Regions from separate parts of the Homo sapiens genome. Here region 1 is linked to region 2. Evidence: promoter capture Hi-C in 16 types of primary human blood cells and fetal thymus (Javierre and others, 2016). All regions are on one chromosome and are shown on one strand. The core of a region is centred on a gene start or on the middle of the fragment in contact, and the rest is flanking DNA. Distances in the headings are between cores, read along the strand shown. Region 1 overlaps KATNB1 (katanin regulatory subunit B1). Region 2 holds the start of GINS3 (GINS complex subunit 3).

Region 1 (4,974 bases), core at 1,464-3,963, 650 kb after region 2:
CCAAAACACCAACTGTGGTGGCCTTTGGATAACGGAACTATATGTAGTTAATTTTGTGTTTTCTCCTTTATGCACTCCTATTTGGAAAACAGTTTCCAGCATTGAACATATAGCTGCATAAATAGTGGGGAGATGCTATTTAAGAACTAGCTCCCTAACCAGCTCCAGCCAGGTCCCCTCAAATCCTCATTGGGGAATGAAGGCTGGGAATGAATTAAAATAAACGCCCACATGTTGCTGCCAGGCAGGCAGATGGGCAGGTGGGAGGGGAGGGGTACAAGTCTTTTGGCTCAACCACAGGCCCAGGGCTTATTTTAATCTTCTCACGCAGCCTGCCTGGAGTTCTTAATAGTACCACAGGCAGGTGACTCCCTCGCTCCTGAGGGCTGGCCACTGTCCCAGCCATGCTGGGCTGTCCTGGGCCTCACTGAGCAGACAGCTGGGGGAAGCACTGATGGTGTCCCCACCACGCCCCCTCCACCCCTGAGCTGGGCCCCAGCGGATAGGGGGCCCTGGGCTCAAGAGAGTCTGAGAAGCTGCTCACTCTTCAGCCTCCAACCCCTGTCCCCGTCCCCTCCCCAGGCCCTTGTCCTGACCCCCCGCCAGCTGTCGGGGCTCACCATGATGCAGTTGGGCTTGTTGATGGACCACAGGTTGACGCGGCAGTCATCCCCGCCTGTAGCCAGCAGCCGCCCGGAGGCTTTGCCCAGCACCAGTGAGGACACGTTGCTGGCATGCGCGACGATCTCTTCTACACAGGGAAGGAGAGGGAGAGGCCATCAGGGCGGCCCGATGGGGCCTTGTGAAGGAGGGGTGACCCTGCTCGGCTACCCGCTTTGGAACCTGAAGCCCAGTGGAAGGATCTGCCTCCTTCAGCTCCCCCTTTGGTGTCCACCATGAGCTGCAGGACCAGCAGACAGGGCAGGGCATGGGCCTGAGACGGAAATCACTGTTTCTCAACTTTCATCATGCCTGTCTTTCCTACCTTTAGACTTCACGATTTTCTTCCTGTTTCTGCATATCACCTGGTAATATTGACTAGTTATACGCAATTTTTAAAATTGACTTGCTATTTTTATTAGCTTGGGCTTAAGCAATGTCCATGAAATTACAAGTTTGATATACTCATGATACTCTTTCTATGATACAAAAAGAAAAACAATTATTGAAATAAAAAAAATTGACCCATGCACTGCCTACACACCTCTCAGCTGCTGCTTGTGTGTACATACAAACCCTGCTTTGGAGAACACACTTTAAGAACAACCGAAGTCACCTCTAGACAAGCTGCCCCCAGGTAAGCCTGCACAGGGCTTCGGCTCAGATTCACAATCACGGATCAGGTTCTGGTCTGAGGTCTGTGATCTGCTATTGCGTGGCCTTGGCTACTAGGTCACTTGTCCTCTGAGGGCCTGGCTCCTCGTCTGGAAAGTGGGGATGCCCGTGGTGTCTGCTCACACCTGATGCTGAGGACTCCCTCAGAGCGCGCCTACGTGCTGCTTAGTAGCAGGCGAGGGCTCCGTGACATTGGGCAGGCTCGGGGCTAGTCACCATGAGAGAGTGGGCATGGGGGCCTGGGCGGGCACCAGAGGGTGGGCTTCATGAGGAGGGGGCAGGAGGCAACAGACTGAGCAGCTGGGGTGGGGGTGAGGGCTGACCACACAGAGGAGGAGCCTGTGCAGACAGCCCAAGGCCCTGGCCTGGTCCGTGGAGATGGCAGACAGGAGCCTCGGAGGACTCCGCAGGGAGCAAAGCACAGGCAGGGAACCAAGAGGCGGCCCGGGCCTCAGAACCCATCCCTGCATGAGCTCCTCCTGGAAAGAAGGGAGAAAAAAGACAGTTCTCCCCACACAGGCCAGGGGAAAACCCCAAGGTGCTGACGCCCCGAGGCACCCGGAAGGCCAGCGTGGGTGACGCCAAGGAAAAGGGTGTTGGAGCCACGGCGCTCCACAGAGGCCCCTCCTGCACCCCAGCTCCGACTCCACCCTGCCTGGGTGTCTCTGCTGCGGGCTTCAGACCACAAGGAGGTTGGGAAACTGGGCCCAGGGAAGCTGCTTGCCAGAAACCTGGGCTCCAAGGGGCCACCAGGAATACCCAGGGGACAAGTCGCAGGCTGAATCTCACTGATGACACCCTGCCTCCTGGGCCGGTCGGGGCAGAGCCAGCACAGGCAGCAGCGCCAGCAAGGGCGAGGGTTCCCTGTGGGCCCAAACCTGGGCCAGGGCGCTGGGAGTTCGCCATGGGGATCCCAGGGAGCTGGGCCCCACTTTAGTCCCGTCTCGATGAGAGCCTTCTGTCCTCTGGACACTGTCGGGACAGAAACCTGAGGAATTCCAGCCACAGACGTGTCTGTTCAAGGTTTCCACCTGACCCAGAAAGAGGGCAAAGCACCTTCTCCCTGGCATTCCGTGCCCGAGCCTGGTGTCCTCTCCGTGGAGGCACTGCTCGCTCCCCCTGGCCTACCTGGAGGGCTCTGTCTGTCCCCTGGCCCTCACTCCTCCCAGGGAAAGTGTCTGGCTGGGCCCCACCTCACTGGGCCTCAGGACTGCTGCCCCTGGAGTCAGGGGCATTCATTCATAATATCAGTATTTCCTGGGTGCCTGTTCTAGGCCTTGCACGAAATATGCCCCAGTATAATCAGATGGTGGTGGGGGCGGGACACTGAGCTGGCAAAACCGCAGACTTTGGAGTGAGAAAGATTTAGAAGTTGGGCCCTTCTGGAGGAGCCCACATCACTCCCCTCTAAGCAGCCTGACCAGGGACTGACTGGAGCCCACAGAGGGAGGGCAGAGGGGCAGGGACACAGCACAGGCACCTGCAAAGGAGGCACGGGGCACCACCCCAAGAGCTCCTCCTTCATCCTGGCTTGTTGGACAGCAACCAACAGCCCAGGCCGAATACTTGATTTTCATACCAAAAATAAAAAATAAAAATCCTCAGTGTCTACTGGCAGGCCAAGCTCTGGGAGTACAACCTGGGCCCCACATCCAGCCAAAGCTGGGGAACATGGTGCGGCGTGGCCAGAGGGGCTGAGGATCAGCATCCCAAATGCAAGATACAAAGTACTAGGTTTCAACGACCTCATGTGGGCCACGCACCTCTGATCCTCACCAGACCCTGGAGCCACAAGGAGCCAGAGGTCACGTGGCCCTGGGCTCTTCAGAGTTGATTCCCACGGACACCACCGTGCACATGAAATCAGCAGCAGCAGCAGATGCCCAATACGCCTGATCTCATTACCTCCTGCTCGCACACACTGATGGCTTGGCCTTGCCTTTATGATAAAGCACGGCAGCCTCAGGAGGGCTGGGGTCCTGAGAACTCAGTAGGTCCGTGCGGCCCCACATTCCTCCTGCTGCTGTGCCACTGCCCATGGCCTCCCTTGAGTCCTTCCAATACACTGAGCCTCCTGCCTCAGGGCCTTTGCACTTGCTGTTCATGCAGCCTGCAGCATTCCCACCCCACCCCTACCCCTACCCCCCAGCTAACTGATTCAAAGCACAGGCACCAGCTTGCAACTAGAGGAGACACAGAGGGATACGGTTATCCAGTTCCTGCCTGTTGCTCTCCCCAGGCTCTGAGCTCCCGCTGTACAGAGACCTTGACTACTTTGTCCCCCAGTGGCTCCCCAGTGCCTAGCTCTGGGGAAAGGCCAGCTGTCGAAGGGATGAATACGTAATCCCAATAATTACAAAGCCACTCTGACCAAAGTGTGCCTTCCTTGGGGAACCATAACAGGGTTCTCCCAGAGCCCTAGAGTTTTGGGGAACAACATGAAAATGGCCCAAACCTCTCACTTTACAAACAAGGAAACAGAGGCCCTGCAAAGAGCTTTGCCCAGAGTCTTATGGTTAAATTCATGGTTAAAAAGTGTGGAGTCTTGGCCAGGCATGGTGGCTCATGCCTGTCATCCCAGCACTTTGGGAGGCTGAGGCACGTGGATCACCTGAGGTCAGGGGTTCGAGACGAGTCTGGCCAACATGGTGAAACCCCGTCTCTACTAAAAATACAAAAATTAGCCGGGTGTGGTGGCGGGTGCCTGTGATCCCAGCTACTCGGGAGGCTGAGGCACGAGAATCGCATGAACCCGGGAAGCAGAGGTTGCAGTGAGCTGAGATTGCACCACTGTACTCCAGCCTGGGTGACAGTGAGACTCTGTCTCAAAAAAAAAAAAAAGTGTGGAGTCTTGTCCCAGCTCCTGAAAACCAGCCCAGGGACAGCTGGCAGCAGACAGTGACCAGGTGGAGCACACAAAAGCTATGCCAACCAGTTACAATAGGTGGGGCAGGGCCCACCAAGGTGCCAATGTGTAGGGGAATTCTCAAAATATGATCTGGGGATGCTTGGGATCCTCAAGATCCTTTCGGGGGGTCTGAGAAGACAAAAGGATTTTCACAATAACACTAAGATGGCATCTGCCTTTTGCACTCTCATTTGCTCTCAAGCATATGGTGGAGTTTCCCAGAACATCACTAGAGGCCTATTTGATTATATACTCTTGTTTGAAAATGTCTCAGTATTAACTTCTAACGTGGTAAATACTGACAGATATATAACTCCAACAAACAAAAGCACTCTGGGGTCCTCAATAATTCTTAAAGTATGAAGTCTTCAGATGAAAGAGTCCAGATCCACTTGTATAGGGCAATGGTGGGAGTGGACAGTGCCCATCAGTTACAATCCGAGCCCTGTCTGCATCCCTCTGCCCGCCCCTCCTCGCTCCCACTCCTTCCCCCATCCCAGGCCCAAGATGCTTTTATCTGACTGGGGAAGTTTGACTTGTGAGATGTCTGAGAATGCTGTGAACATCTTTCAGGATTTCTCACCCCACTGTCAGCCTAACTGGAAATGCTGTGCTAAGTGCTTTAGGATGGGTTCATCCTGTCACTTGAATTTCACAGCAACCATAGAATGCAGGCGTCATCTCATTGTACATATAAGAAAACTGAGCCTCAGAGAGGTTAAGTCACCTGC
Region 2 (4,936 bases), core at 2,359-4,858:
CGGCCAGCCGCCCCGTCCGGGAGGTGAGGGGCGCCTCTGCCCGGCCGCCCCTACTGGAAAGTGAGGAGCCCCTCTGCCCAGCCAGCCGCCCTGTCCGGGAGGGAGGTGGGGGGGCCAGCCCCCCGCCCAGCCAGCCGCCCCGTCCGGGAGGTGAGGGGCACCTCTGCCCGGCCGCCCCTACTGGGAAGTGAGGAGCCCCTCTGCCCGGCCACCACCCCGTCTGGGAGGTGTACTCAACAGCTCATTGAGAACGGGCCAGGATGACAATGGCGGCTTTGTGGAATAGAAAGGGGGGAAAGGTGGGGAAAAGATTGAGAAATCGGATGGTTGCTGTGTCTGTGTAGAAACAAGTAGACGTGGGAGACTTTTCATTTTGTTCTGTACTAAGAAAAATTCTTCTGCCTTGGGATCCTGTTGATCTGTGACCTTACCCCCAACCCTGTGCTCTCTGAAACATATGCTGTGTCCACTCAGGGGTTGAATGGATTAAGGGTGGTGCAAGATGTGCTTTGTTAAACAGATGCTTGAAGGCAGCATGCTCGTTAAGAGTCATCACCACTCCCTAATCTCAAGTACCCAGGGACACAAACACTGCGGAAGGCCGCAGGGTCCTCTGCCTAGGAAAACCAGAGACCTTTGTTCACTTGTTTATCTGCTTGACCTTCCCTCCACTATTGTCCTGTGACCCTGCCAAATCCCCCTTTGCGAGAAACACCCAAGAATGATCAATTAAAAAAAAAATATATATATATATATACAAATATTACAGAAGAATTTCAAATGTACAAATAGAAAAAAAAAAAAAAGAAAATTTAGACAAAAAAAAAATACAAAAATTAGCTGGACATGGTGGCATGTACCTGCAATACCAGCCACATAGGTGGCTGAGGTGGGAGGATCTCTGGAGCCTGGGAGGTCAAGGCTGCAGTGAGCCATATCACACCACTGCACTCCAGCCTGGGCAACAGAGCAAAACCCTGTCTCAAAAAAAAAAAAAAAAAATTAGATAAAATGGTCAAAGTTTTAGTTAAAAACCAAATATACCAAAACTAACACAAGAAGAAATCAAGTCTGAATAATCCTATAAATGAAATTAAATGTCATACAAACCTTCCTACACAAATCTCCCATGCAGAAGGATTCTAAAGATTTAATGTAGACACTCTGCACTCAAAGAAGTGGAACATAACTCCCTACTCCTTCAGTGTGACAGTGATAATGACTTCCATCCAAAGAGTACAGTATGAAAAGGTGGAGAAACCTAATGAACATTACCTCTGCCAAGGTTCAAATGAACAGTACAAAGTCCTGTTGATAGTAGGCACCCTTAATATGTGATGAAAATGGCACTTTACCTCTGTGGTCTTCCTCCCTAAAGCTGATAATCAAGTCTAATGCTGAGAAAAAAAGAATAAAAAACAAAAACAAAGAAGGCTGGGCGAGGTGGCTTACGCCTGTAATCCCAGTACTTTGGGAGGCTGAGTTGGGTGGATCACTTGAAGTCAGGAGTTCCAGACCAGCCTGGCCAACCTGGTGAAACCTCATCTCTACTAAAAATACAAAAATTGGCTGGGTGTGGTGGTGGGCGCCTGTAATCTCAGCTACTTGGGAGGCTGAGGCAGAATTGCTTGAACCCAGGAGGTGGAGGAGGCTGCAGTGAGCTGAGATTATGCCACTGCACTCTGGCCTAGATGACAGGGTAACTCCGTGTCAAAAAAACAAACAAAAAAACAAAACCAAAAACAAAACTACCCCCAAACCAAAGATTTCCAACTGAGGAACATTTTACAAAATACCTGACCACCACTCCACAAAACCGTCGAGGTCATTAGAACAAGGAGGTCTGATTAATTGTCACAACCAAGAGAAGGCTAAGGAAACATGTCTACTAAATGCAGTGTGGTATCCTAGGTGGAATCCTAGAATAGAAAAAGGGCATTAACTAAAAACTAAGGAAATATGAATTAAGTATGGGCAGCATAGCGCCATGTTTACCAGTGTGTATGGGAACGAAATCCTCATCTGCTAGGATGAAGTCAACAGATAATGTCTACATTAAAAAAAACAACCCAACAAGGTAAGTTTAAGAATATTATTTAGAAATATGAAGATGAATCTTGAAGACACCACTAAAAAAGGTACATGAGCCCTGTGGACTTGGAGGGGGAAGTGGGAAAAGGAAGGCAGGACCTGCTATTTTTTTTCTTATAAATCTTTTGGTACTATTTGACTTTTTTTTTTTTTTTTTTTGAGATGGAGTCTCACTCTGTCGCCAGGCTGGAGTGCAGTGGCACAGTCTCGGCTCACTGCAACCTCTGCCTCCTGGGTTCAAGAAATTCTCCTGCCTCAGCCTCCAGAGTAGCTGAGATTACAGGCGCCGGCCACCACACCCAGCTTTCTAGTAGAGATGGGGTTTCACCATGTTGGCCAGGATGGTCTGGATCTCTTGACCTCGTGATCCGCCCGCCTCAGCCTCCCAAAGTGCTGGGATTACAGGCGTGAGCCACCGCATCCGGCCTATTTGACTTTTAAAACGTTGGTTATGTATTACTTTGATAAAAATTAACTTGAAACAAACAGACCAAACAATAAACATCGTTCTATACAAAACTTAGGTGAAACAGGATATCCAAATTAATCATTACAAGCCATGTTCCTGGGACAATTTTATATTTGAAGCCATATGGCCTTGGGTTCCGAATCCCAGCTCACCACTAACTGAAGCCCTGGCCAAGTGACCCAGCCTTTCTGGTTGCTGAAGGATTAAAGGGAAAAGCTTACTCCCCACACCCAACCATGCTGCCACTAAGTAAGCCTCAGTAGGGCTTACTGATCCTGTCATCATTATGGAGGAATGAATTTAGCAACTTGGGGTTCCTACTTATCACATGCTCTTACAGAACCCAAAGCTGTTTTAAGGCAAACATGATCAGAACTCTAATTCTTAAGTATTCAGCTGGAGCCAATCTTTAAGCATTCAACACACGTTGCATGGGGTAGGGGGAAGACACTAATTTGGACAGTTTCAAAAAAGAAATCAATGTTGGAGGCTGCCTGGCGACCTAGGATAAATGTAGTTTCACCACAGATGGCGAACAAGAAGTCTGGAGACCACCCCGAGCGCGAAGGGACCCCCGCGGAGTTTCCGAGAAGTCGTTAGCGCCTTCGGCCCTGGCTCCTCGAAAACTACAAATCCCAAAGGGCAGCGCGCCCCGATGCGGCGTCCCAGGGCCGAGGGGCCCGCCGGGAGCTGCAGTCTTTCCGGGCAGGACCCCGCACCCAAAGGCTCACCTGTGGGACCGCGTTGTCAGTCTCGGCGCCTGCGCTCCGCTCCAGGAAGAAAGCGCCAAGGCGAGGCATGGCGGTCTCCGTGCGCACCGGCAGCTTCTCGTGGGACATCAGGATGTCGTCCAAAGAAAGAAAGTTCTCCTCAGGCCCCAGCGCACCCGACTCCACTCGGAAATAAGCCTCTGACATGGCGGCCACTTGAGCTTCTCCGCTTCCACTCGCGTGATTCGGAGGAGCCTCAGGAGTTAGGGGTGTACAAGACGGGGAAGCGGAGACTGGGCAGGATGGTTGGGGTCAGGAAAGTGGATTGAAACTCGTTTCCCGCGCCCGGGGACGCATCAGACAGGAGCAGTCAATTCGGGCGGTACCGCCCAGGCAGAAGCAATCGATCAAGTCTGCAGATTTAGAGCAGCGGGACACGGCTGGGGAGCGGTAGGTGGGGGCGCCGGAAGTTCTCTTCCCTCCGCTTGCTGCACGGTGTGGGAACGTTACGAAGAAGCTGGAACGCTCGTTGAAGCTCCTGGACCCATTTGTACTGGATTGTGTTCATGTGATCCTTAACTATTTATATGAAATTAAAAACACTTTGCAACACTTTTAGGGGTTTAAAATAAAAGCATCTTGTGCCCTTCACTCCAGGCCTAAGTCCGACCCTTTCCTACAGTTTTTTTCACTATGCAACTCCGTTAATCTTAGTATTTGAAAGAAATGTTAAACAAACAAAAACTTCCAGCACTATCCCCAGCGAGTTATTATGGTCTAGATGATGAACTAGTGTGTTGTATTTTGTTAGTATTTTGGTGGGGGTTGGACGGGGTGGGTAGAGGGGTGGAGCACTAGACTGCACATGGCTTGCTAAGGTTGTGAGTATACTTCAGGGTGTCTTAGCTCATCATCAACTGACAATCTCCTTTTGTGGCTCTGAATTTAAATCCCTAAAAATGGAAATCCAATTGGTCCAGTTTATTGATTGGTCCAGGTACGCCACAATGGTCATAGATCTCCAGCCACCCTGTAGATGGGGGTGCCTGTGTTGGGTGCGATCACTATCCAGTGACCAGGGGAAGGACCATGGTCGCATAGTACCAGGTTTGGTGGCTCTCCTCAGCCAGGGCTATGGGTGGCGGCATATTGTTGAGAGATGCACTACAGAACTTACTTCGTCTAGAGCATTTCTGGGGCTACTGGAGCCGGGAGTAAAGGGTGTGTGTGAAGGGAGGTGTGTATTAACCATGGATTTTAGTTTCTGTTTTCTGTATTTTATGATGCTTTGACATCTTGGGGCCTTGGGGACCTGGGGAGGAATTGCCCCTTTCAGAGTTAGCTAATTCCTAGAGATAGCAAACAACTTGCTTGTGAACACCCCTTTCATTTACAAACCAACCAACCCAAGCCTATATCCCCACACCATCTTTATCCATCTCACACACCAATATTTTCCCTGCCCCAAGTCACTGTAATAAACCACCCCATGGCCAAGTACCAGACAACTAAAATTCACCTCTATATCCCAGAGCTTGCCAACATTATTCAAATTATTCAATCCTAAGCTTGTTCAGACTTCCCTTCCCTGCTTCGCCCATTCCTTCCCACGGCAATAAAGGCTCTGGGCTTTCTCCTCGCTCTCTCTACCTCCTCATTGACCCTA

What was found. The method cuts DNA at HindIII sites, captures the fragments that hold promoters and counts their contacts. A CHiCAGO score of 5 or more calls a contact.
Region 1: a contact is called between a fragment that was not itself captured here and the fragment with the promoter of GINS3 in region 2, in 8 of 17 cell types (activated CD4 T cells, total CD4 T cells, naive CD8 T cells and 5 more). The highest score is 11.7, in activated CD4 T cells.

What each region holds. Positions count from the first base shown.
Region 1 is chr16:57,737,464-57,742,437 of GRCh38, reverse strand. KATNB1 (katanin regulatory subunit B1) reads right to left here. Exons shown (of 20, transcript NM_005886.3): 3 at 621-751. Among named protein-coding and RNA genes, the nearest start is that of KATNB1, 4.2 kb to the right of the region's middle. The HindIII fragment of the contact is 6,249 bases long and covers 1-4,974 here.
Region 2 is chr16:58,391,143-58,396,078 of GRCh38, reverse strand. It overlaps GINS3 (GINS complex subunit 3), which reads right to left and starts at 3,608. Exons shown (of 3, transcript NM_022770.4): 1 at 3,292-3,608. The coding sequence starts at 3,477. RefSeq lists enhancers at 141-786, 2,815-3,391, 3,296-3,785, 3,392-3,969. The HindIII fragment of the contact is 2,062 bases long and covers 2,779-4,840 here.